Linked DNA regions of Homo sapiens: regions 1, 2, 3, 4 and 6 are each linked to region 5. The links are contacts of gene promoters, found by promoter capture Hi-C in blood cells and fetal thymus (Javierre and others, 2016). All regions are on one chromosome and are shown on one strand. The core of a region is centred on a gene start or on the middle of the fragment in contact, and the rest is flanking DNA. Distances in the headings are between cores, read along the strand shown.

Region 1 (4,004 bases), core at 229-2,728, 400 kb before region 5:
CGGTTCAAAGAGGAGTGTGACTCTCTGCCACTCTTCAGGAGTTTCTGTTCCACAGTTTAGGTAGTGTGGGGCAGTGGTTCTGAATCAGCAGAAATACCCATGGAATCCTTAAAAAAATAACAACTCTATTGAGATATCATTTACACACCATACAGCGTACTCATTTAAAGTATATCAGGCAATGGCTTTTGTGTATTCAGAGTTAAGCAACCATCATCACATAATTTAGAACATTGTCATCACCCTAAAAAGAAACCCTGTACTCCTATTACCAGTCGCTCTCCATTTCCCCCAACCTCCACGACCATCCCTAGGCAACCACTAATTTACTTTCTGTCTCTACAAATTTGTCTATTGTGGACATTTCATATAATGAAATTATACAATATGTGGTCCTTTGTAATTGACTTTTTTTACTGAACATGATGTTTCAATTACTATAGCATGTATCAGTACTTTATCACCCATGGGGTGTTAAAAATACAGTTTAAAAATACAGTCTTTCACATGTCCTACAAAGTGCTAGAAAAAAAATTTTAAAAATTGACGGGGCGCAGGGGCTGATGCCTGTCATCCCAGCACTTTGGGTGGCACTGGTGGGCAGATCACTTAAGGCCAGGAGTTCGAGACCAGTCTGGAACACAGTGAAATCCTGTCTCTACTAAAAATACAAAAATTAGCCAGGCGTGATGGCACATGTCTGTAATCCCAGCTACTGGGGAGGCTGAAGCACGAGAATCGCTTGAGCCTGGGAGATAGAGGTTGCGGTGAGTGAAGATCACACTGCTACACTCCAGCCTGGGTGAGAGAGTGAGACTCTGTCTCAAACAACAACAACAACAACAACAACAACAACAACAACAACAACAACCACAAAACAAACAAAAACCCCTGATTCCTGGAGATCCTGATTCCATAGGTGTGGTCTCTGCAAGCAATTTTATCTGGAATTGAAGACCACTGGTGTTCTGGGACAAAGGTTTTGAAACAGACAGGGGTCCAAATTCTGGCTCTACCACTTATTGAGGTGTATAAATTTGAGGAAGTTACTAAATGCTCTGAACTTCAGTTTCTCCTGGAAAATGGGATAATTATGTCTAGCTTGTGTGGCTATTGTTAGGATGAAATGAGATACAAGTATGTAGAGTACCTAGCCCCGAGTGTTAGCTTCCTTTGCATACTACTGTTCTGAGATGTGTTGGTTGAATTATTAGTAAGGATTTGAAGGCTATGATGCATTCAACACTCAGTGCGGATTATAGATCCAAGAACACAGACTTTCTTAAAGTATGAGGCTTACAGGACTTTTTGTTTGGCTAATTAAAGTGATAGTCTGTTTTAGAATTCTAATTATTTATTCAGAGATGGGGTCTTATTATGTTGCCCAGGCTGGAGTGCAGTGGCTATTCACAGGCATAATCTGAGCTCACTGCAGCCTCAAACTCCTGGGCTCAAGCAATCCCCCTGCCTCAGCCTCCTGAGTAGCTGGGGCTGTTTCAAAATTTTAACATTGGTGCTGTAACATACGCACTGTTTATTGATTAGTTGTGACTGGTGAGAAAATTGTAGAGTCTCTAAAAAACTTAACTTTAGGAGCATAAGTGCATTCAAAACTAAATCCCTATTGACTAGCACAGCGTTAAAAAAAAATAGTCGTGGCACTTTGGGAGGCTGAGGCAGGCAGATCATTTGAGGTCAGGAGTTCAAGACCAGACTGGCCAACATGGTGAAACCATCTCTACTAAAAAAAAAAAAAAAAAAAAAAAATTAGTGGAGTATGGTGGCGGGTGCCTGTAATCCCTGCTACTTGGGAGACTGACATGGAGAATTGCTTGAACCCTGGAGGCAGTGGTTGTAGTGAGCTGAGATCACACCACTGTACTCCAGCCTGGGCGACAGAGAGACTCCGTCTCAAAAAAAAAAAAAAAAAAAAAAGTTGTGGAGTGAATGTAAGTTGGACACAGAAAATCCCTCATAATATCCTCCTGTTTGGTTGTATAGTGGCCTATGAGCAGATTCTGTGGCTTAGACTCCCAGTCCCATGGTTCCTGGCTCCTGATGTCTTTTCCCATAACATTTTGACATTCCAACAAACTCTAATTAGCTGAATGATCAATCACAGAAATGTAAATGTAGAAGCGAATTTACAGATCATACAGCTCCACCCTGTAAATAAACCAGGATGATTAGGGTATTCACGATATTGCAGATTGGCCAGCTCATGACTTGCCCTTTGTTCCTAGCTCTGTGCCTGGCCTCAGAGGAGAGCCTTGGTGCACGTTTGACTTTTTAATCTTTATTTGAACCTGTTACACACCGTCACCCCCACTGCTCTGCTTGCCACAGACATGGAAGGTTCACTAAGGCCTTAAGGCACTCATGCAAGCTCACAAGAGAAAGAAATCTATAAGGCATGTAGAATTTGGACTCAATCATGTTGGTCTTTAATGTGCCTAGAGCAATGGAACGGGCACTTTGGGGGCGGTGGAATTCAAGACGCTCTGGCTGAAGATTCAGAAGTATCTGGTAACTCTCTTTTCCTTCTGGGCATCCTCTCCTCTGTTCTAATCCTCCCTTACACTCATTCCTGGTCCATTGTATTCTGACCACATCCTTAATCATGGTCAAAACTATTGAGTCCTGGGCACATTGGTCATGAAGGAACAAGAAGGCAATGAGAGACTCTCATGCCAACCACTGCCCTGAAAGCCCTGCTGTTCAGACAGCAAAGGGGCCAGCACTGGCCAAGCTCTTATGCTTGCTCTGAAACCTTCTTGGGAGGAGTCAATAGGGTCTCCTTTTGAAAGTGTCCCTGGCCTTTTGAGAAAGCAGTGTGGTGGAGGGAGATGGTTCTGGCAGGGGCCGTGAATGGTTGTTTTCTACTTGGGATTTCTTTCCTGCTTTAGGAGATCTATTGGGAAACTGATTATAACCACTCGGGCACCATCGATGCCCACGAGATGAGGACAGCCCTCAGGAAGGCAGGTGAGGACACATCCTGTAGACAGGGTCTTGGGATCCAGGTGTGCACATTGTAAATATTTATTCTCATGATGATGATTGCTAATGATCATCATTTGTAGCTTTCTTATATGGGATATCAAGGCAACAACAGAGCTTTGTTGAGTACCTTCCCTGTCCAGGAAGGGGAGAATATTGCTCGATTCCATATAGCATAATATTTTAGAATTTTTCCAAGATCTCTGCCTGTTACTGGGAAGGTGACAGCAATTACAGAGGAAGGGGCTATGAAGGAGACAGACAGGAACTGGCCAGACAGGCAGCCCCCTCACCTTCTCTGCTTTTGCTTGCTGATGTGACCCATGGCTGAGTTGGTGCTGGTACTAGCGCTGGACCTGGAATTAGGCTGATCTTGGTGAGGAGTAGCTACAAGGAGAGGGATGGATGGCAGGACACCTTCTGGGATCCCCTGGAGAAGGCAGAGTCAGGCCTGGTTTGCAGATTGATACAGAACCACAGAGGGGCCCCTGGGATGTCAGCTCCTTGAGTGTTTATGGGAGACAGTGCTGAGTCCTCCACTCTACCTGTGACCCAGGCTCCCTCTGCCCTCAGGTTTCACCCTCAACAGCCAGGTGCAGCAGACCATTGCCCTGCGGTATGCGTGCAGCAAGCTTGGCATCAACTTTGACAGCTTCGTGGCTTGTATGATCCGCCTGGAGACCCTCTTCAGTGAGTCACTCTGTCCTCCAGCCCCATCCTATTAATCCCAAGGTGCAAGGTGGGGCAGGGGCAGGGCCAAGGGGCAGAACCAGACATTGCCTTTAGGAGGCCAGGGACCCAGAAAATGATAGACAGGGCTTCTGGAATGCTGGCACCTTGGGGGCGAGGGGCAGCTGGACCTGAAGGGGCTGAGGAAGTCCAGGCTGGCCAGATCCAGGACGGAGGATGCCTTTTTTGGAGACTTAACAAAGCTGCCATCCAGACTATTGCGCATCTACAGTGTGCAGTCACTAGGCCAAGATGAATGAGTCACAGTAACTGTT
Region 2 (4,168 bases), core at 1,476-3,975, 340 kb before region 5:
CTGTCTCCTCCAACCCCCTCCAAAGCCCAGTTGTTCAACAAGAATCTAAATGACAGAGACCCTGTGAGGACACCGGAAGAGAAGGGCCTCCCTCTCCCAAGCTCTAATGACCAAAGCTCCCCGGAAAGATGTCTCAGAAGCTTGTTTTGAGCGAAGAAAAACTGCAGATGATGGGGAAGGCATCTCCATCGTGAAAGCTTTATGCTAGGAGAACAAAGGGTGAAGAGAGACCACTAGAAGAACACAGACCGTCAGCCTTCCTCCCTCAGTGGGTTTCTCAGCACAGCCTCCTCCAATACTGTTTCATGCTTAGGGTCCCCAACAGAGAGAACTACCCTGAGTACCCCTGCCAGGCTGAGAGGAGGGGAGCAGTCTGGCTGACAGCTGCCTCTGGCTGACAGCACACTGTCCTGGAGCCTGGGGCCTGGGTCAGTGCCTGCTAGGCGGGCAGCAGTCATAGACAGCCGGCGAGGCCCCTCAGCCCTGCAGAGAGCCTTCCAGGTTCTGAGTCATGGATTATTAAACCTAGCTTTTTGGTGTGTATTTGGGGGGTGGGGTGGGGGTTTTGATAAACCACCTGTGACCCTTGGGTGGTTTTGAATCTCTCTGAGTCTTGAGTATCTCTTTGGAAAAAGAAAAGGATGTCACCAGACAGAGTTGCAGGGAAGTCAGCTTTGTACTTCATATTCCACCGGGGTCAGCTTAAATCCATTCACCATTAGGCTTTCCCTAATTCCCGGCTCCGTGGTTATTAAATCTCTGACTTTGAACACCTGCAGCATTGGGTTTGTAGCTCTCTCACGGCACTCGTAGCTGTAAAGTCAGATAGCTGTAAACTCCTGTAGGCTGGAAATGGCTCTGACAAATCTTTGTATTCCCCTGCCATAGCCAATGGAATGAAGTAGAAATTATTCACACTTGGTTGATTTGAAAGCTCACAATATGAACCAACATTTATGGAAGCTTTTTTTCTACGTGGCAGGCAAGCATTTTGCACAGGCTTTTCTCATGTTGTTCTCACAAGGAGACCTCATGGGGCGGGTACTTTGATGAGCCCCGATGACATCTTGGAGAGGTGAAGTAACTTGCCCGAAGTCATTCAAGCAAGCAAGAGGTGCCCTCAGGACTCAGCCCAGGCAGTCTAATAGCAGTCCACCCTCTCAACTTCCGGTGCTGTATGTCTGCTAGTTCATAAGCATGTGATGGTTTCACAACATCTGAAACCCCACCCCAAAAGAGGATTCAGAAGGTTGTTTTGAGAGAAGGAAAATTGCAGACAACAGGGAAGACTTCTCCATCATGAAAGCTTTAAGTTAGGAGAAAAAGGGAGACGAAAGACCATTGGAAGGATGCAGACCAGCAGCCTCCGTCCCCTTAACTGGCTGAGCTGCTGGTTTGAGCTATCTTCTGCAGCTTACAGAAAATCAAGCTTCTCCCCAAAGAAGAAATGAAGATAACTACCCAAAAGGCCGATGGCTTTACAGCTTGGCAGACATTGGAATCCCCTGGAGAACTCTTTTTTTGACACCTGGTGAGGTCTGTGGAGAGAAACCTGCAAGGGAGTGTGAATCTTCCCTTGTTTTTTTTTTTGCCCCTGGAAACCACCATTCAACTTTCTGTCTCTGTGAATTTCACTGTTCTATGTACCTCATGTAAGTAGAATCATATAGTTTTTATCCTTTTGAAACTGGCTTATTTCATTTAGCATAATGTCCTCAAGGTTCATTCATGTTGTAGCATGTATCAGAATCTTCTTCCTTTTCAAGCCTGAGTAATATTCCATTGTATGGATAGACCACATTTTGTTTATCCATTCAGCTCTTGATGGACACTTTGGTTGTTTGCACCTCTTGGCTATTGTGAATAATGCTGCTATAAATATGAGTGTGCAGATATCTGTTTGAATCTCTGCTTAGAATTCTTTTGGGTATATACTCAGAAGTGGAAGTGCTGGATCATTTGATAATTCTATTTTTAATTTTTGAGAAAGTTATACCATTTTCCACAGTGGCTGCATTGGGAGGATTGATTGAGCCCAGGAGTTTGAGGCTGCAGTGAGCTGTGATCGCACCACTGCTCTCCGGCATGGGCAATAGAGTGAGATTCTGTTTCAAAAAAAAAAAAAAAAAAGTAGAGTGACGTAGATAAAACACACTTGTCATTGACGGTGGCATTTAGTAAACATTCAGCAGATGCTACTCTCCTAACTGTTCCCCTTTCTTCACTTAATCTCAGAATCCTGCCTTGATACAAAACAGTATCACATGTGTGCACCTAGGGGAGAAGAAGAAGAGAAACAGCTGGAAACGTGGATCTCATTGGATTACAGAGGGCCTTGAATGCCACATAAGGAATTTGGACTTTCTTCTGTGGATAGCTGCAGTAATGGGTTGAACTGTGTCCCCTCAAAATTCATATGTTGAAATTCTATTCCCCCAGTAATTCAGAATGTGAACTTATTTGGAAATTGGGTCACTGCAGATGTAATTAGTTAAGTTAGGATGAGGTCATGCTGGAGTAGGGTGGGCTCTAATGCAGCACGACTGGTATCCTTATAAAAAGATACTAGCACTGAGAGAGCCAGCGCTGGCCTGGGGGAGCACGGGAGGCAGCAGTGAGAGCTGTGTGTTTGGGAGTCAGGAGGTGACTGAGGCCCCACGGCGAGCGTGCAAGTGTGCGTTTGGTTCTCGGTGTGTTGGGCAGCAGGGGAACCATGGGATCCAACACACATTTTTTTTTTTTTTTTGAGACGGAGTCTCACCCTGTGGCCCAGGCTGGAGTGCAGTGGCACGATCTCAGCTCACTGCAACCTCTGCCTCCCGGTTTCAAGCGATTCTCATGCCTCAGCCTCCAGGTAGCTGGGATTATAGGCACCTGCTACCACGCTGGACTGATTTTTGTATTTTTAGTAGAGACGGGGTTTCACCATGTTGGCCGGGCTGGTCTCAAACTCCTAATATCAGGTGATCCACCCTCCTCAGCCTCCCAAAGTGCTGGGATTACAGGCATGAGCCACCGCCCCCGCCCCCAACACACATTTTGCAAGAGCAAACGCACGGAGGAATGTTCTGTTTGAGTGCACTTGTAGCTGTTGGGCTCTGGGCAAACCGTATGAGCCCTGAGATCCACAAGGAGAGGAGGAGTTCCTGGAAGTGGTGGAGGTGAAGGCATTACAATGAGCTGCCTCCCTTTAGCATCCTCAAGCGGCGTCCCGACCCCTTCAAGTCAAAGGCAGACATGTTCAGGGAGCACCTGCTATGAGCTGCTGCCCAAAGAGGTGGATGGGGTTGTCTCAAAAGGTGAAAAGACACAGGGAGGCCCTGCCCACAGGGCCATCTCCTGTGGGCAGCAGAGGCTTGCTCACAGCAGCTCAGGCAAAGAGCTGTAAGTCTGAAGAGCCAAGGGCGCTCTGTGCAGCAGGAGCTGGAGGGAAGCAGTGTCATTAACATCCCTGCCATTTGTCATCATCAAAAGGTATTTCTTAAGCACCTAATTGAGCCTGATACTGTGCTTGTGTTTTATTTTCAGAGCTTGTAAGGACTAAACAATGTGCAAACAAGCAAATCAAATATCCATATAAGGCAGGTTACTTGTTTCATTAATTTTCCTTTTCTCTCTTCTCTTCTTTCTCTTCTCCCAGTTTCGAACTCTCCAGACCTGGCTAATTACAAATGACGTGTATGCACAAAAGGTTATCATGGAGCTGCGGTTCACCTTCCAGTGATGATCATCCCACAGCCCCAACCCACACCCTCCACCAACACACAATTTTATACACATAGTGCACACATACCCCACACCACAAAATTACCCTCACACACATGCACCACACAGAGCCCAGACCACACATTCCTATACACCACATGCATGCAACGCACATACCAGACACACACATACACCCGACACACTACACACACCACACACACCCCACACCCCACAACACACCACACACACGCAGTCTGCAGGCTGTCTGGAGGCTGCTGCTGCTATCCAGAGAGACGTGGTGAAAAGACTAAGCTTTTAGGGACCATGCAGGCTCAGAAACGGACAAGAGGAAAGAGCTGCGACAAGCAGGTGAGCTGAGAGCCACTCACCAGAACAGAGTTCCAGCAGGGCTGCCTCACGCTAAGGAGACCTTCCCTGGCCCACAGCCAGGTGAGCAAGGCAT
Region 3 (4,220 bases), core at 304-2,803, 370 kb before region 5:
CTTGGATGTTTTATTTCTTAGCTTGTGTTTGCTGAGCACCTGCTGTGCCAGAGCCTTGGCCTATGGCTTTAGAAGAGGGCAGGGTCTGGGTGTTGTGGCAGATATGTTTGGTTTCTGAACCAACAGTGTTTCTAAATCTCCTTCTTCCTTTGTGGCTGAGAACGTCACTCTCAAGATAGAAGCAGCTGCAAATGCCATTTCACTTTCCAGGCTTTCTCAAAGCTGTGGAGTGCATGTCAAACCCAACGTTGACTAAGGAACCAGCAAGGGAAGCCTTCTAGAGAACTACTAGGGAGGATTTTCTCTCTGGCAACAAAAGAAATGTAAAAGAGAGGCTGTCCTCCCTTCCTTCTGATGGGCTTGTGTGAGAACCAGTGGTCAGCGGCCATCCAGCTACCTTGAGGGGACCAGATGACACTGAGGATGGCAGAGTGCAAAGAGGGGAGGCAGCAGGTGCCTGACAACTTCATCACACAGAATTAACCAAGCCTAGAACTTCCTGTTTCCAGACAGCTCGACCTGTGAGATAATAAATGTCCTTATTGTTTAAGCCATTTCAGTTGAAATATTCTGTACTCGCAGCCAAAAGCATCCTAGGTGATACACACAGAAAACAGAGTCTTCCCACGCAGGAGATTAACACCCAGGGGAGACAGGAAATGCACCCATCAGGCATCTGAAGAGCATTTACCAACCCATGTTGTCCCCATAATTTACAGCTGGGTCTTATTTTAGAAAAGAGATGCATTCATAGAAACAGTGTGTGATACAAATTATAATTCTCAATTAATTTCATAAATGTTTCTGAGATGTGGTTTCTACAGTCTTAATTGATCTTTAACAATAGCTCCTAACACTTTGGAGTTTCTTTCTTCTGGTTTGACAAGTGGTAAATAGCTGGAAATCCCTACCATTAAAGTAAAATTATTTTGTAAACAAGGTATCCTTTTTACCAAATGAGTATTCATTCTTTAATTTACCCTTCTGGTAATTTCAGATTTTGGAAATAAGGGTCCTCAGGAAAGCCTCATCTGAATACCAGGCTCTGTGACCATGTTTATTATTCTCAAAGACCAGAGAAGGGTAAAGCATGTAATTGTGTCTGCACCTTATTATTCCAAGTGTTTATTGTAGCCTTAGCTGTGATTGGTGTAATGAGATGATAAAATGGTGCTTGTGGCTGAAACTCCTGGATAATACATCATTCAAAGGAAGAGGGAGATTTTTTGCAGAATTTACCATGGAGCTCTCCACAATCCCATCACATACATCTCAAACCCCTCATCCTTAGTGAGGACCTCAAAGGCTTTGGAGTTGAAAATTAGGAAGTGGATTTTCAGAGAGAGTCCTGGTGAGCCCCGTGGGGGATTGGTTCACCTCCTCCGCCTCTCTCCTGTTCAGAAGCCTGTTCCCGGATTCCCTTGTTTGCAGAGTGTTGAGTATGGTTTAATTCTGCCAACAAGTGCCTTGAAGCTAGATTAGGAAGCCGGAGTGGAGGCTGAGCCATTCTTCCTCTTCCAGCATAGTGGCAGGTGTATTAACTCTGGCCAGCATGAGTTCTTCCAGTGTATTTTTTTCCCAGCCACTCTTTTGCCTCAGGGCTGCTGAGCAGCTGTAAACATCAGCAGCAGTTTCTGAAGTTTTTTGACTCCCAATTGCAAAGTTAGAGGGGACAGCCTGCCTGACTGCCCTCACTCTGACACCAATCGCAAATTCAGGAGGTTCCAAAAACTCCTGAAATTATTTTCTAGAAGTCCCCACAGAACTCATGGAAAGCTGTTAGACACCCAGTTATGATTTATTACAGGAAAAGGATACAGATTAAAATTGATCAACAGAAGAATCCAGAAATATTCCAAATGCAGAGCTTCTGTTCTCCTCTTCCCAAGGTCAGGATGCATTAGTCTTCTGGCATCGATGCATGACAATATCCATGGAGTATTGCCAACCTGAGAAAGTTCTACTGTTTCATCTTTATAAATTAAAGTGACAAGCTGGGTGTGTGCCTGTAGTCCCAGCTACTAGGGAGGCAGAGATGAGCCCAGGAATTCGAGGCTGTAGTGAGCCATGATTGTGCCACTGCACTTCAGCCTGGGTGACAGAGATAGACTCTGTGTCTAAAAATTAAACAAAACAAGTGGGTTCTATTTTCCTATATGATAAGGCATGGGAAGTACATCCTTCTTCTCCTCAAGTCAAGATGGAAAAATTTGAAACAGATCATCCGGAAAGTTCAATATGGTTTCCCTGCAGTTTGGGGGACACATTTGACCAGGGTCTGAGTCTCCTTGAAGCACAAGTTTTTGCTGCACCGGGATCGGCCTGTACTCCAGGGGTCCGCCAGGTCAAATGATGTGGAACCTTGGGCTCTGTGTGAGAGAAGGTCAGTGTGGTTTCATCTTAGGTCCTGTCCAAGGGGGTCCCCTGGAGGGGCAAACAGATCTCAGCTGCAGGGAGCTGGAGTAATTGCTGATGCCTAAGAGGCTGGGGAAAGAGTGAAGAATAAATCCAATGGATATGCTTTCATTTACATCAAGGGATCTGATGGCATGAGACCTCCAGCTTTAGGGTGTCTCCAGAAAAGCCATGAAAATGCATATGAGACAAAAAGTCTCCTTAGCTTCAGAGGGAGTCAATTGAGTCATAGTTTGTTGTTGTTGGTTTTTGAGACAGGGCCTTTCTCTTTCCCCCAGGCTAGAGAGCAGTGGTGCAATCATGGCTCACCACGGCCTTGACCTCCTGGGCTCAAGCAATCCTCCTGCCTCAGCCACCTGAGTACCTGGGATACCAGTGCGCATCATCACACTTGGCTTTTTTATTTTTTGTAGAGATGGGATCTCACCATGTTGCCCAGGCTGGTCGCGAACTTCTGAGTTCACGCGATCCTCCTGCCTCAGCCTCCCAAAGTGCTGAGATTACAGGTGTGAGCCACTGCACCCAGTGAGTCATAGATCCTTTGGGTTATAAGACACTTATCAGCCAGCTATTGCCATAGTAATTTTGCTTAACAAACTACTGAAAACTTAGCAACCTAAAACAATAAAGCATTTATTTCTGACTCCTCTGTCTGCAGGTTGGCTGGGTTCGGCTGCTCCAGTTTAGCTGGGCTTGAGTGTAGACTGTGGGTTGGGTACAAGTCCATGCATCTCTCATCCTCTTTGTGGTGGTGGACACCCAGGGCATGTTCTTTCCATGGTGAAAGACAGGCATACAAGATGGCAAGCCCAACCACTCCCATTGGCCTAAGTAAGTAACACAGGCAAGCCAAGAGGCAAGATGTGGTAAGGTGCACCCTGCTCACCCTAAAGCCATGCCAAGCATGGATGGCTAATACTGTAAGAGGGGAGTACAGATTTGGGGCCAGTCATTCGATTGACTTCAGTACCATTTAAAATTTTAAATCCAAACTTAAAGATAAATCATCCCCTTTCTGTGATCTGGGTTCTCAGCCAAGCAGGAGGGAGTGCTGGGGCTGCCACTGGGGACTGATAGTCACTGGGGACACTGGGACACTAGACTTGGCACCAAGAGTTCCTAGCCTCACCCTGCTGAGTGAGCCAGAAGAAAAGTGATGTGAGACACCTGAATGCTCTGGGCTGGGACTCTGGCCTGCAAAATGAGAGGGCCTCAGCCTATCCCACTGAAACTATTGCTGGGAAGGTCCCACGGGCAGGCTGACCTCATGAGTTCATGACCTGTGAACAGAGGAAGCTCTGGGCTTGGTTTAATGCTCTGGTGTTGCTGACTTGGGATTCTGAATAGTTTTTAGACAACAGGGTCCCACATTTTCATTTTGTACCAGTCTCCAAATTTTATGTAGTTGGACCTGCCCATGGGAGTGCAGTTTTCCTGAAGATTTACTCATGTAATCAGTAAATCCAGCCCCAGAGGTCTGCTGCTCACTGTCACCTCATTCATTCTGCAATACTAATGAAGATTACAGCCACCATTTATCCAGTGTTCACTAGGGGCCAGGCACTGTGCTAATTAGGGCTTTACAAACAGCATTCTAAACCTCTACATTAGTCCATTTTGTGTCGCTATAAAGGAATACCTGAGGCTGAGTAATTTATAAAGAAAAGAAATTTAATTGGCTCATGGTTCTGCAGGCTGTACAGGGAGCATGGTGCCAGCATCTGCTCAGCTTCTGGTGAGGCCTCAGGGAGCTTTTACTCATAGCAGAAGAGGAAGTGGGAGAAGGCACATCACATGGTGAGAGA
Region 4 (4,616 bases), core at 1,500-3,999, 490 kb before region 5:
TCTGATTTCCTCAGGGTCCAGTGGACCTTTCCTGGCTGACTCAGCCCCACCTGAGTGCTCCTTACTGCTGCAGACATGACACATCACAGCCTCCGTTCAGTGCCTGACCCAGAGGTCCACCCCACAACCTCTGCAATAGGATTGAGCTGACTTTTTCCTCCCTGCCCTCAGCTCAATCTTACATAATACCCGAGGGAGACTTGGGGGCACTTCCGTTGTCTCTCATCTTCTGTGTAAGTGCTCCATGATGCCATCTTTACTCTGCTTCTGGATTCCTGAATGGGCAGCAGGGCATACATGTTCCCTGCTTTGGCTTCTGCTTCAAACTACCTGAGGCTTTACTCTTGTTTCCACTTCAGCCATTGTTCAACCTCAAGGTAATGTAGGGGCTACTGTAGGGTTTCTGATGTCTGACCTTTCTTCTTTCCTTCCTCTTTCTTTCTACCTGCAGTCCAGAAGTATCTCCATTTCTTCCCTTGGTGTTTGAGAAATTCCATTAAGCTATAGCTCGAGTTCTTGCTACCTACAGTTTATAATAACATTAGACATCCCGACCTTTAAGCTTTGATTTTAATGTGTAAAGGGAATTTTTGAATTAAGGGATTCTTTTTTAACAATGTCTGATTCAGGATTATTATCTCCTGGTGGATTTTATTTTATTTTTTTTCTTTTTGAGGCGGCGCCTTGCTCTGCCGTCCAGGCTGGAGTGCAGTGGTGTGATCTTGGCTCACTGCAACCTCTGCCTCCTGGGCTCAAGTGATTCTCTTGCCTCAGCCTCCTGAGTAGCTGGTACTACAGGTGCCTGCCACCACGCCTGGCTAATTTTTGCATTTTTGGTAGAGACAGGGTTTCACCATGTTGACCAGGCTGGTCTTGAACTCCTGACCTCAAGTGATCCACCTGCCTTGGCCTCTCAAATACATTTCTTTTTTTTTTTTTTAAGAGAGCATTTGTTATAGTCTCCGTTTTGGGACCAGACACAGGCATTACCATCCAGGTCTTCCAGTCTCCCTAGAATAGATTCAACCCAGTGCAATGTGTGTATTTGAAAGGCTATTCCCAACTTTATTTTGGAATTCCTTTTGTGGAATTCTTTTTTCAGAGCCAATTTATGGGGCATACCAAATCACTCTGTAGTCATGCTTCTAATATCAGTTAGAAAAACCTTGGGCTACAAGAAGCATAAATAGGGGGCAAGTTCTTCTTTTATAATAAGAAAACTAGAGGCAGACAGCCCAGGGCTAGTGTAACTTTAATAATGCCCTTGGAGAGCTAGACTCACACTGTGCTCTGCTCTGCACTCTCCTATGCTGACCTTCATCTTGCACCTGCAGCCTTGGGATTGCAAGCTGGCTCTGCACCTCCAAGCACAGTGTGGACTTTCCAGATGGGAAGAAGGAGGAAGGGCAATGGGCAAAAAAGTCTCTGCCAGCCAAGTCTGCCCCACTTCATCAGGACATGGAAACCTTCCCTAAATTCCCATGAAGTGCACCTCTGCTTAAAGCGCATGAGTGAGCACTAACTCCTGAGCAGCCCTAGCTCGAAGGTGGCCAGGAGGGACTTGTCTATCAAGGTATTTCCCAGTGTTTTTGTCTGCCTTATTCACCACCTAACTAGTATGTCAAAGCCTCCTGACTGCTTTTGAAAATTAAAAAATTGAAAATTAGTCAGGTGTGGTAGCTCATGCTTATAATCCCAGCACTTAGAGAGGCCAAGGTGGGAGGATTGCTTGAGGCCAGGAGTTCAGGATCAGCATGGGCAACATAGTGAGACCCCAGCTCTGTATTTAAAAAAAATAGCTCGGCATGGTGGCACATGACTGTAGTCCCAGCAATTTGGGAGGCTGAGGTGGGAGGACTGCTTGAGCCCAGGAGGTCAAGGCTGCAGTGAGCCATGGTTGCACTACTGCACTCATCTGGGCAACAGAGCGAGACCTTGTCTCAAAACAAAACAAAACAAAACAAAACCTATGCTCCAAGATCAAAGCTGTTTTTTTGCTGGCAGTTCCCCAAACAAGTTTCTAAATGTGAACAGCAGAGTAAATGTCCATCTTCCAGAGGACTCTGAAGGGAAGCACATTTGGATATATTCCTTTGAAAACGCATTCTCGTCATGACAATCCATTCACACTTCATGCAGTGACTGGCAAGGATCCAAAAGCCTCCAAACCCACAGCATCCCTTCGAGCCTCTGTGCTTGCTTGCAAGAGCTGGGTAGACCCTGTGAAATGTCAGGAGTGAGGTAGATGAAGAGAAAATTAAACTCTCCTCCAGCTGGGCCACCTCATTTGATGTCAGCAACGGAGGGACATTTTGTTGCCGTGACTTGAATTGTAATATCTAGGGAGTGCTCTGGGTGGGCTGTCGGAAGAAGCTTAGACCGGGAGCCAGAACCTTCACATCGGAAGGCAACCAGGACCATGCCCAGTAATGAGGGCTATGTGGCTGCTCTGATCTCTTTGAGAAGCCACTAGCTTTAGAGGTGTTGCAGAGCAGTCTCCCCCTTCACTCCCCAGAGGACTGGGCTTCTGTGCTTGCCCTACCTTGTTTATCTCCCTCTGCCTGATGCTGGTGAAAGTGAAATCTGTCAGGTTTGATGCAGATTCTTGTTGAATGCCACTTCCCCACAGACTTGGGAGGCTGAGGTGCAAATATATGTAAGATGCTGTTGGAGATTTGCAGAAGAACAAAATATGATTCATTGATTCATGTAGTCATCTGCTTATTTGTTTTTATTCATCAAACATCCGTTGAGCTGCTTCTGTGTGTCAGCCACCTGCTGGGGATGCCGAGATGAGTGAATCCACATTGCTGCTTTGCAAGAAGAGGTCAGAGAGGGATGAGGGAGAGAGAAAAACAGATGTAATCAAGTGGCCTTAGAACTTGCTGGGGAGGTGTGAGGAGGAAGGGCTTGGTGCTGGTAAGACAGGCCAGGGATAGGGGTAAGGAAAGCTCTGCCAAGGAGTTGATGCATGAATGGAGTTTTGAGGCCAGTCTGGGTGCAAATCATGATCTGAGGCAGCTTGTGATAACTCTGCAAGAGAAGCGTAAATAAGGTCTTTAGGACACATACCAAAAAAGCGGTGACTTCTGGCTGGAGGGTAGGCGGTATCAGAGAAAGCTTCATGGAGAAGGGGTAAGATTCATCAAGAAGTTTGCAAGCAGAGGGAACAAACAAGAAAAATCACATCAATGAAAACGACCAGGGTATGTTTTGTACATATCCAAGTTCGATTGGGAGATTAGATTCATAGCGGAGAGTGTAATAGGAAAAAGACTGGAGAAGTAGGTTGGAGTCATATTGTGAAGGGTGTTGATGCCCTGTTAGGTTGTATTTCATTGGTGAGCAATGGAGGACAGTTGCGAGCAGGGGTGTGACATGATCACAGGTGTTCATAGAAGAAAAATGGGCTGAGAGGAGCTGGGTGGGAGGAGGACACTGTGTTATTTTGCTCAACCTTTGGAAGTTGCCTTTTAATGAGAGACTGCCCTGCTTGAGGCTTCTTTGGTGAGAAGTAACATAACTCATGCCAGCCCATCCACATCAACTCTGTTTCCCTCGACTACCAGGTCTAGTCTCACCTAGGAGCCCTGTTGCCATTAGGAAGATAGTGTTTGTCTGTGAAACAGAGCCTGGTGAGAGAGTGAGGCAGGAAGCAGGTTGCCTCCTGGATCAGAAAAGCTCTTCAAAAAGTAATATGGCCAGGCATGGTGGCTTACACCTGTAATCCCAGCACTTTGGGAGGCTAAGATGGGAGGATCACTTGAGTCCAGGAATTCAAAACCAGCCTGGGCAACATAGTAGGATCCTGTCTCTATGAAAAAAAAAAAATTAACCAGGCATGATGGCATGCACCTGTAGTTCTAGTGACTCAGGAGGCTGAGGTGGGAGAATTGCTTGAGACTAGGAGGTTGGGGCTGCAGTGAGCCATGATGGCGCTACTGTACTCCAGCCTGGGCAACAGAGCAAGACCCTGTCTCTTAAAAGAAAAAGAAAGTAAATGAGTATGTGTGTGTGTGAGACAGAGAGAGAGAGCGAGTGAGCGGGAGAGAGAGAGAGACAGACAGACAAAAAGAGAGGGAGAGAGAGAGAGAGGAATTAATTAATTTGGGGTCAGATCATGAATGACTTTGTTGGGAAAGATCCAGGCAGACAGAGGCCAGGGCTTTCTAGGATGACCTGGTGATGGAGCAATTCTGAGTGATGATGGAGATGTTGGCTCCTCAGATGTGGGTTCCTGGCTTACTGCTTGCTCAGGCAACAGGTTTTCTGAGAAAACCATAATGTGTTCACACCTAGAATATGTATATAGCTCTGGCCACAGTGTTAAAAGAAAACTTAGAGTGAGACAAGGTCCACAGATGGTCTCTAAAAGGTTGAAGGGCCTTCCATCTGAACACACATTGAAAAGATTCAGATCTTTGATATGGAAAAGATAAAGGCTAAGATGCACAGGTAGGACTTTGGAGCTGTTTGAATGGAATGAATAGGAGAAACAGGGACTTGTTCACCAAATCTTAGACTCCTAGAGCTAGAGATCTACAATGAAGGTGGAAAGAAGCAGTACCAGGCCAGAAAGATGCAATAGCCTTCACATGATGTAAAGCACGCTTGAG
Region 5 (4,497 bases), core at 1,267-3,766:
TACGGAAGCTTAATACACATTTGTTGAATGGATGGTTAGTTTTAAGAAGTACCTAATAAACCTTGGTATTTGTATTTCCTTGAATCTTGTTTTGGTTGCTACCTTTTTTAATGGAAATAGTCACTACTGCTTATGTTTACAAGTTTATTGAGTTCTAATTTTATCTTTTAAGATAAAGATTGCTGATATCATTCATTCACTCATTCATTCATCAATAAATATTTATAGGGAGACACTTGTCAGATACTGGATTTGAAGTGAACAAATCAGACATGGCCCCTACCCTCGTGAGGCTTACAGTCTATTAAATCTATTAAGTATGAAGGACAGGCTGACCTTGAACCAATAAACATGTCCATGTAAAATCATAAATTGAAATGAGAGTTGTGAAGGAAAAGAATAGGTTATAAAGAGGAAGAATAATGGGAGGGACCTAATTTAATTAGAAGAGTTAGGGAAGTTCTCTTTGAAGAAGTTACATTACAGGGAACACTAAAATGTGGGTAGGAGTGAGCTACGCAAAGTCATGGAGAAAGAGTATTCCAGGTAGAAGAAATAGCATGCGTGAAGACCTTAAGCAAGTGGAAGGCAGCTGCTGAGGCTGGGGACTGGGAGGTTGGGGCTGGAAGCAGACAAGCCTAGAGAAGTTGTCAGGGGCTAGACGATGGGGTTTTGACCTAGAATATAAACTTTGTTTGTAGTTCATAGGGAAGACATTGAAGGTTTAATATATGGGAATGACGGGAACCTCTGGCAGGGCTCTGCCTGTGAGCATCACATAGCACCCCGAGGATGTGTTTGCTACTCTAGGTTTCAGTGGAGAAAAAAGCAAGTGACAACCCTTCTGTTCCTGCTCAGCAAAAGCTTTGATCACCAGCCCCCTTCCCCTGAATATACTGGAGAAAAATAACAGAAGTGCATTTCAAGGTCCACATGTGAGAAGACCCTAAGCTGTCCTGGCTGTTCAGGTAGAAGTTGTCATCTTCCTCAATGATCTCGGCTGTTGGAAGACATGGCCAGGCAGACAGAATCTAAAAGTTCTTCCAGGTGTGACATGAGTCCCTGGAGCTCAGTGACAGAAACCAGTGTCCAAAACCAGATGCCACCCTGGGGAGGGGGCTTTGGGAGTTCCTGGGAGGCCATAACACCGTCTGGAAGGCTCCTCTCTCCCACATATTCACAAAGTTGCATGATAAGCCAGGCCCCTGCTGGTCTTGCAGCATCCACCTATGATGCAGAGTAAACAGTGCCACACGTCAAGCTGTCCCCAACCTTGCCCTCGGTTCCACTACCAAAAGAGGGAACACTGGGCTTGCCCCAGCAAGGTGTTATTTATGTCAGGCTAGGGCCACTGTGGCTCCCAGCTCTTACTGCTTTCTAGGTGCCCTTACAGACTTCCCCACTGCCCCCTGCATATGCCAGAGTGTGAACATCCCCTCCCTCTCCACAGCCCCCACAGTGGGGTTCGGGTGGGCAGGGAGGTGGTTTCATCCCTCTACATACAGCCCTTGGAGACCTACCTAGGCAATTTGTCACTCAGGCTTCAAGCTGCCAGCCGAGGAGGGGAGCTGAGAAGACTCTATAATGAGATCTTTGCACTGTAATTAAGTGCCAGGCTTTGTTTTACACCTATCTTTCCCGCCTTGCCCGATCCCACCGCCAAGCTCCTCCAGGCAGTGAGTGGGGAGTGTCAGCTGCTCTGTGATTACACCCCAAGTGGCAGGTGGCAGGGAGCTCCTCCGCCTGCAGTCTGCGCCCCACCCCCAGGCTTCCCCCACCACCAGTCTTAACTCAAGACAGTGCTATTTCTGTCCTTGAACTGGGTTTCACCCCAGAAAGCCACTCCACCGCTTTCTCATAAGGCTACCTCCTTTTAACCCTGTGGTTGCACGGCCTCTGGGGTGTCCATTTCTTTCTTTTGACACGTCCCTTTTCCTGAAAGTTTCAGCAAACCCCATAGGCAGAGGGAGTTAGAAAAAGGAAAAGAGAAGTTAGGGCAGGAGGAGCACTGTTCTTATAGGACAGGAAGGGTCTGTCTTCTCTCTTGGGTCCTCCACACAAAATCGGAGCTTCCAAACACCCCAGCTCCCAAACATATGCAGCAGATTCTGCTGACAGGAATGTGTCACTGTGATCTTCACATTTTAGCCTGAAGTTTAGCCTACCTGAAGAAGCACCGGAGTGGGAGTGGGAGAACATGGGATGGTGCTTCTCTTTGGCCTGGCTGTGCTTTTGGACACTTCAGGTCTTCGGCCTGGGTTTCCTCCTCCGTACGATGAGGAGAGGATGGGAGGGGGCAATGCTGGCATGTGTGATCTCGATAGACACTGTGGAAGTCTGCAGAGACCGGAGCATAACCTCTGCCTCCTCTCCCCGGGCCTAGCCTCTCACAGCCCTCAGAGAAAACCCTGAGCTGCGGCGTGGCCGAGACGGGGGCGTGGCCTGGCAGGTGGGCGGGCCCTTCCGTGGGCGGGGCCGCGAGGTTTTCAGGAGCCCGAGCGAGGGCGCCGCTTTTGCGTCCGGGAGGAGCCAACCGTGGCGCAGGCGGCGCGGGGAGGCGTCCCAGAGGTGAGCGCCCTGCAGCGGCAGGGGATGGGCCGGGGGCCCTAAGTCGTAGGCAGCGCGGGGCGGGGACGCGGCTGCCTGCGGAGGTCGGACTCCTCTCCGCCCTCCTCCCGGGCTGTCCGGGTCTATTTTCCAGTCTATGTCCAACTCGCGCCGCCTCACTAGGCGGCGCTCTCTGCCCCGCGGCACCCGCGAGACGTGGGGTCCCTCGGCCCAGGGACGGGGTGAGCGTGTCATGTGGGTGCCCTGTGCCCGGCAGGTTGGAGACGAAGAGACCTCGGCACAGACGAAGTCACTCACATCCTCGCTTTGAAACAGAGCGGGTCCTTCTTGTGCTGTCTCGCTGTCACTCTCGCCCCCACCCTGTGGAAGAGGCAGGTGGCTTGTCCCCAGTCACTTTCTTCCTTGGAAAAGGGAGACAGAGGGCCATCTCCAGCAGGGCCATGGAAATCCCAGAAAGTCACTGAGCTGCTCAACAAAAGGCCCTAAACACCCCACCCCACAGCACCAGGCAGTGCACACTGGCCAAGACTCCGTGGTAAATATTGCTGGCCTTTATGTTGAGAGGGGGAAAAAAAAGCCTGCCTGTGAAGATCATTGCCCAGTGGCCATGCTCCTGTGAAAACACAATTGGAAAGCCATTTCCTAAGGGGCGAGGGTGGGTCTGGGACCATGCTGTGGCTTGGGTGATTGGTGGTTGCAGGAGTGAGGGTGCTGCCCTGGGAAGGCGCTGAGGCCCTGTTGGGTGGGAATCGACGGCTGCGGCTTTCTCCCGGAGGAGGGAGAGCGGTGTTGTTACCTAGTGTTGGGAACACATCCGTCCAGCACCGTGAACTGCAAACAAGCAGAGTAACCCTAGTGTCCTTCAGATACTGTTGCTGAGCAGTCACCTAGTCAATGAGATGATCTGTTTGGACGGCAAGTGCATCTGTAATGCCGCCCTCTTGCTCAGTGCCTGGAAGAGGCATTGGTGACTCCCCGCTAATGCTAGGGGTAGCTACCGTGCAGGAGCAGTCAGGCTCTTGCAGGGCCAATGTGGTTTCATCAATTTTCTCCTGCATTTACCCAGCCCCTCCGAATTCTGAGAAGTGCGTCCAAGATCTCTTGGACTCCTTGACTCAGTTCACCCTTGTTCTTGTGGGCAGAAAACAATTCCCAGTGTGCCATGCACAGCCAGTCAGAAGGGAAGCCCTGGAGCAGGGCCCTGGGAGAAGTTCTGTGGGGCTGGATGCTAATTATTCAGTTACTGGATTGTGGGGAAATTCCAGGGGAGGTCCCAGAGGAGAGACCGTGCTAAAGCTAATTACTAAGCAGTACAAAAATAATCTCTCTCTCTCTCTTTCTCTCTCTCTCTCTCTCTCTCTCTCTCTCTCTCTATATATATATATATATATATATATATATATATATATATGTAATTTTTTTTTTGAGACAGTCTCACTCTGCCGCCCAGGCTGGACTGCAGTGACACAATCTCGGCTGACTGCAACCACTGCCTCCAGGGTTCAAGCGATTCTCTTGCCTCAGCCTCCCAAGTAGCTGGGATTACAGGTACCCACCACTACGCCTGTCTAATTTTTGTATTTTTAGTAGAAATGGGGTTTCACCATGTTGGTCGGGCTGATCTCAAACTCCTGACCTCAGGTGATCCGCCTGTCTTGGCCTCCCACAGTGCTGGCATTACAGGTGTGAGCCACTGTGCTGGGCCAAAAATAATCTAAATTTCAACAATCAGCATGACCATGCCTGTGCGTATGACCCTAATTATCAGTCTGACTGATTCTTCCTTCCAAAATGATGGCAGAGGATCACCTCTTTGGATATTTACAGCTCTGAGCAAAGCAAAAAGCATGTAGGTGCCATTGTCTGAATGCAAAACCAGCCATGCCAGGTTTTCGGTGTTGTTTCTGAGGAGGGAGCGCCTCTCTGGAG
Region 6 (4,181 bases), core at 304-2,803, 470 kb before region 5:
AATTATAGCTGCTTATAAAATATTCCAGTGTGTGTGATCTGTGGTCCTTCTATATCTGGCCACAGGCATATAATTTAGAGCATGACATCCATAAGTGAAAACAGTTTAAAAGTCAGGTTAAGAGGGTATCAGAAGTAGCTGGGGTTATAGGGAGTAGCTGGGGTTGCAGGGAGTGGGTGCCATATTCTCATTCCTGTATCTCCCTTCTCTTGCTTTAACTGGAGTTTGGATTGAGGATGAAAACCTGCTGCTGACTGAGAAGCAGCCAGGTGCCTCCAAAGACTAAAGAGCCCTCCTTGTCTGGCCTCCTCTCTCTCCCCTCTATCTTCCTGCAGTGATGCCAGGCCAGCCTGTCATTTGCAGTCAGGATCCTGCATTTGAAAGATGACTGTTTCTTTCCATCCACCCATGGGCAGTGGCTAAGGCCTGCTCCCTTACCTCGCTGCTCTGGATTTGTGCCACCAAGAGGCCCCACCTGCCTGGCTCAGTTTCTGCTGGGTGATTCTTGGTAGGGTGGATCTGGAGCATACTGATGGCAGCAGAGGTGGTCAAGTTGTTTGTGGAAAGACGGCCCATGTGGTTGGGCAAGCCCCTGCCAAGGGTGTGTAAAGGCTATTAGGCCAGGAGCTGACAGGAAGATACTTGTGAGGCCTCTGCATGGGTGATTTTGGTTTTACACTCAAAATTAGAGGAATGACTGTGACCCTGGACTCTTCTACTTCTGCTGCCAATGACCCATGGGGGCTCCAGAAGTGAGCATGCCAGCTGATACACATTTTCTGTAATATTGTTGTTTTTCAGAGTTATAGGCAGTTGACCATAGACCTAAACCACAAATAATGGATGGTCTTCTGGTCAAAAGGGCCTATGTGTCAGGGACAAAGAATGGAAAGGGACAAATTATGGGGTCTGAATCCTCTTCTCTAGCCTGGCATAGGAACCCCAGGCATGGGAAAGCTTCTACTCTGGATCTGAGAGCTACTCTCTTATGGGAGTCAACACTTCCAGTTGCATATAATAAAGCCCAACTCGAGCTAGGCTAGTGAAAATAGTGTACCAGCTCATGAAACCAAATTAAGGGAAGGAGATGAAGGCTTGGGACAAGGGACTTGGATACTACCAGGATTCTTTCTTTCCACATCTCCTCTCTAGTGCTGATGACATTGTGCTAGTCTAGATTTCTTCATTCCCTAATATCACTAGCATTAAGAAAGGAGTCCCTTCTGTTAGTTCCAATTCAGAAATCCCAGAGAAGTAAGTCTCTGATGGGCTCAGCTTGGGTCATGTGCCTGTTCTTGAACCATTTCACCATAGCCAAGGGCAGAATAAACTATGGCTCAGGTTGAGTGAGATTCCCCCACTCTGGTCAAACTCTTGATCTTGGACACCAGGTCTGTAGGTCTGAAGAAGAGATTAGCTCTCATTGAAACCCCAAGGCTATTACTCCTGAATAATTTGAGATCTTGGTAGATTCTACAACTAGAAAATAAGAAAGTAGAACCTAGAAATCTGGTGGTCCCCCACCAGATTTCTAGGATCCTATTTATAGATGGCCTTGAAATTCATCAGTAGTGTTCCAGTTTCAGAAATGCTGACTGGCTTCTCACTTTAGCACAAATGTCTCCTCAGTTGCCCCAGGACTGCACAGTCTGTTTGCAAGACATAGGGAGAGAGGAAAAGGAGCAGAAGGAGGACCTTGGAGCTCTCAGGTGACCTGCTCTTTTCTTCTGCCCCACAGGTTCCCAAGGAGGTATGTGAGTGCTGACAGAGATTCCTTCCTTTGGTGAGAAATAGCTTGGCTGCCTTCAGGATGGGCAGCCAGCAGCGTCTGTTTCCTGTGGTAGAAGCTGGTTGTTCCACAGCTCTCACATGATCCAGTCATGAATCAAACCACATGAGTAGGCTGGTAGCTCTGAGAGTGGGTGAGGACCATTGCAAGTCCCATCTGTCAGGCCCTCATGGAAGGAACAGTGGTGACCTTTTTCCCCATGCCCCTGGTGGTCTGAACAAGGTGATTCCAATGGGCAGCCAAGGTTGAGAACCAGTGTTCTATCTGGGCTTCCTCTAGCTGGAGTCAGTTGCACTAATTATGTATAGGTGCATCCACCCTGCTCAGCTTTACCCCAGTTCTTCTGGGTTTTCAAGCTTGGCTAGCCATGAAGCATGTGCCAGCAAGGCTCAATTCATCAGCTCTAGTGTATGCCTTGATCCAAGGCTGCAGATTACTGGTCCACCTGCCCTTGGCTCACAAAGTGCATGTTATTGATTACAGAGGGAACAGACAAGGAAGTGAATGGTTTAGAGCAAATACCTCTTACTGATGCAGGGCAGGTGAGCCCTCAAATTGGGGCTTAGCCTGGGAGGGTTCTTGGCTTCACCCAGGAAAAAATTCAAGGACCAGACAGTGGTGTTAGCAACTTTTATTGAAGTGGCAGGGTAGAGCAGCAACAGAGGTCCTTGCAGAGCAGGGCTACCTCATAGTCAGTGAGCCCACAGTAGCAGCTGACAGGCAGGTCCACACTCATATTTATACCAACTTTTAATTATATGCAAATTAAGGGGCAGATTATGCAGAAATTTCTAGAAAAAGAATGTTAACATCTGGGTTGTCAGGTTGTTGCCATGGAAAGGGGCAGTAACTTCTGGATGTTGCCAAGGCAACAGTAAACTGATAGGGCACACTGGTGGGTATGTCTCATGGAGAGGTGCTTTCACCTCTTCCCTGTTTCAGCTAGTGCTCCATTTGGTCCAGCGTCCTGCTGGGAGTTGAGTCCTACCTCCTACCTCATTACTACTGGAAAATAATTAAAACCAAAGCTGATTTAAGTCTGGGTGATGGTGGTTCCCATCAGAAATGCCCCATTTATATGAGAGAGAGGTGACGTGCACACACAATGGAGCTTTCTCCAGCAGCACCTCACAGTGCCCTCAATGTGTCACCCTGGATCCTGTGCTCTACGAGTGCCGGGGGGCCTTCAGGACAACAGTTGTCAAACTTAGAATGTGCTTCTGAATCCCCTAGAGGGCGTGTTGAAGCACAGATTTTTGGGCCCTGCTCCTGGAGTTTTTGATTCTTTCAGTCTAGGGTGGGGCCTGAGAATTTGCATTCTAACAAGTTACCCTGGGGTGCTCCTGCTGATCCTGATCCCACACTGAGAACCACCCTTAGTTAAACCTGCCCAACCTCCATCCTGTAACTTTGAGCTGAGCTATGTCAAGGGCAGATGTGGGGGCCAGGGACCTTGTGGCACCTGCTTACTTGGGGTCCCTAGTAGGACAGAGTCTTACCTAGATCTTGCCTCAGTGTCCTCCAGTTCCCACTCTGGCCCCCAAATAGGACTTCTCTAACCTGCTCCACCCCTGGATTCTTGCTGGAACTCAGTTTGCCCCCTTCCCAACCCAAGACAAATTAGAGTAGCTTCCTTACTTCAACTCTCCTGAGTGCTTTCTCCTACCAGTGCCCTGTCTCCTCCCTTTGCTACCATCAGGTATGGCAAGAATGACCTTTAACTCATGACATGTAGGCCTTGGTCACATCCTCTCTGGCCACACCACCAGCATTCTCCTGCCCAGAATGTAAGCATTTTTAGGGAGAATCTCAAGGACTGTGGGCACCCTAGTGGCCGGGTTAGTGGGGACTGCCTGAGGGCTCTATGTGGAGTCCTGACTAGGGTAGTGGGGGCAGGTGGCCTGCTTCCTTCTTTGCTTAGCAGATCTGTAATCCAAAGAGGGTCTGATGACCAAGAATGAACACTGTCCACTCTGGGGTGGACATTTCAGCTCTGGGTCACACAGAAGTTAACAGCCCTTGCAGTGTATCAGCACCTGGCCTCTGTCACAGGCATCTTGATGAAGATTGATGGTAAAGACACAGTGTTATGGGGAGGCTTAATTACAGCAATAATAACTTTGGCACCTGTGTTTTGGAAGCACTCTGCAGTCACTAATTAACCTGTGTCATGCACCAACAGCCTCCCACCTCCCCGCAACAAATAAGTGGGTCTTGGAGAGCATCGTCGCCTGTTGAGGAGAGTCGAGGCCCTGGGGAGGCTGGGGGGACCCCAGACTAGGCCTAGCTGTGGCCGCCCCCTCTGCCTGTCTCTTTTAGAGCTGCCTCCCTGGGTTCCCAGACTGACCATCCTAGTCTCTTTGCAGAGCAGTTTTCACAGATAGTCAAAGGT

Evidence for each region. The method cuts DNA at HindIII sites, captures the fragments that hold promoters and counts their contacts. A CHiCAGO score of 5 or more calls a contact.
Region 1: a fragment that was not itself captured here is called in contact with the fragment with the promoter of TLR5 in region 5 in 2 of 17 cell types (M1 macrophages and M0 macrophages); the score reaches 8.2 in M1 macrophages.
Region 2: a fragment that was not itself captured here is called in contact with the fragment with the promoter of TLR5 in region 5 in 1 of 17 cell types (M1 macrophages); the score reaches 5.0 in M1 macrophages.
Region 3: a fragment that was not itself captured here is called in contact with the fragment with the promoter of TLR5 in region 5 in 1 of 17 cell types (non-activated CD4 T cells); the score reaches 5.0 in non-activated CD4 T cells.
Region 4: a contact is called between a fragment that was not itself captured here and the fragment with the promoter of TLR5 in region 5, in 6 of 17 cell types (naive CD4 T cells, M1 macrophages, activated CD4 T cells and 3 more). The highest score is 8.2, in naive CD4 T cells.
Region 6: a contact is called between a fragment that was not itself captured here and the fragment with the promoter of TLR5 in region 5, in 4 of 17 cell types (M1 macrophages, M2 macrophages, M0 macrophages and 1 more). The highest score is 11.0, in M1 macrophages.

Annotation. Positions count from the first base shown.
Region 1 is chr1:223,543,753-223,547,756 of GRCh38, reverse strand. It overlaps CAPN8 (calpain 8), which reads left to right. Exons shown (of 21, transcript NM_001143962.2): 17 at 2,458-2,526; 18 at 2,907-2,985; 19 at 3,574-3,690. Among named protein-coding and RNA genes, the nearest start is that of CAPN8, 120 kb to the left of the region's middle. The HindIII fragment of the contact is 5,683 bases long and covers 1-4,004 here.
Region 2 is chr1:223,479,922-223,484,089 of GRCh38, reverse strand. No RefSeq gene overlaps it. Among named protein-coding and RNA genes, the nearest start is that of CCDC185, 89 kb to the right of the region's middle. The HindIII fragment of the contact is 2,588 bases long and covers 1,432-4,019 here.
Region 3 is chr1:223,510,753-223,514,972 of GRCh38, reverse strand. No RefSeq gene overlaps it. Among named protein-coding and RNA genes, the nearest start is that of CCDC185, 120 kb to the right of the region's middle. The HindIII fragment of the contact is 6,761 bases long and covers 1-4,220 here.
Region 4 is chr1:223,629,719-223,634,334 of GRCh38, reverse strand. All of the region lies in intron 2 of CAPN8 (calpain 8), which reads left to right. Among named protein-coding and RNA genes, the nearest start is that of CAPN8, 34 kb to the left of the region's middle. The HindIII fragment of the contact is 747 bases long and covers 2,376-3,122 here.
Region 5 is chr1:223,141,267-223,145,763 of GRCh38, reverse strand. TLR5 (toll like receptor 5) reads left to right here and starts at 2,516. Exons shown (of 6, transcript NM_003268.6): 1 at 2,516-2,568; 2 at 4,001-4,116. LOC124904522 (a long non-coding RNA gene) reads right to left here and starts at 2,409. Exons shown (of 2, transcript XR_007066895.1): 1 at 2,166-2,409. RefSeq lists a silencer at 2,358-2,727. The HindIII fragment of the contact is 3,848 bases long and covers 867-4,497 here.
Region 6 is chr1:223,609,815-223,613,995 of GRCh38, reverse strand. It overlaps CAPN8 (calpain 8), which reads left to right. Exons shown (of 21, transcript NM_001143962.2): 11 at 1,739-1,750. Among named protein-coding and RNA genes, the nearest start is that of CAPN8, 54 kb to the left of the region's middle. The HindIII fragment of the contact is 1,188 bases long and covers 960-2,147 here.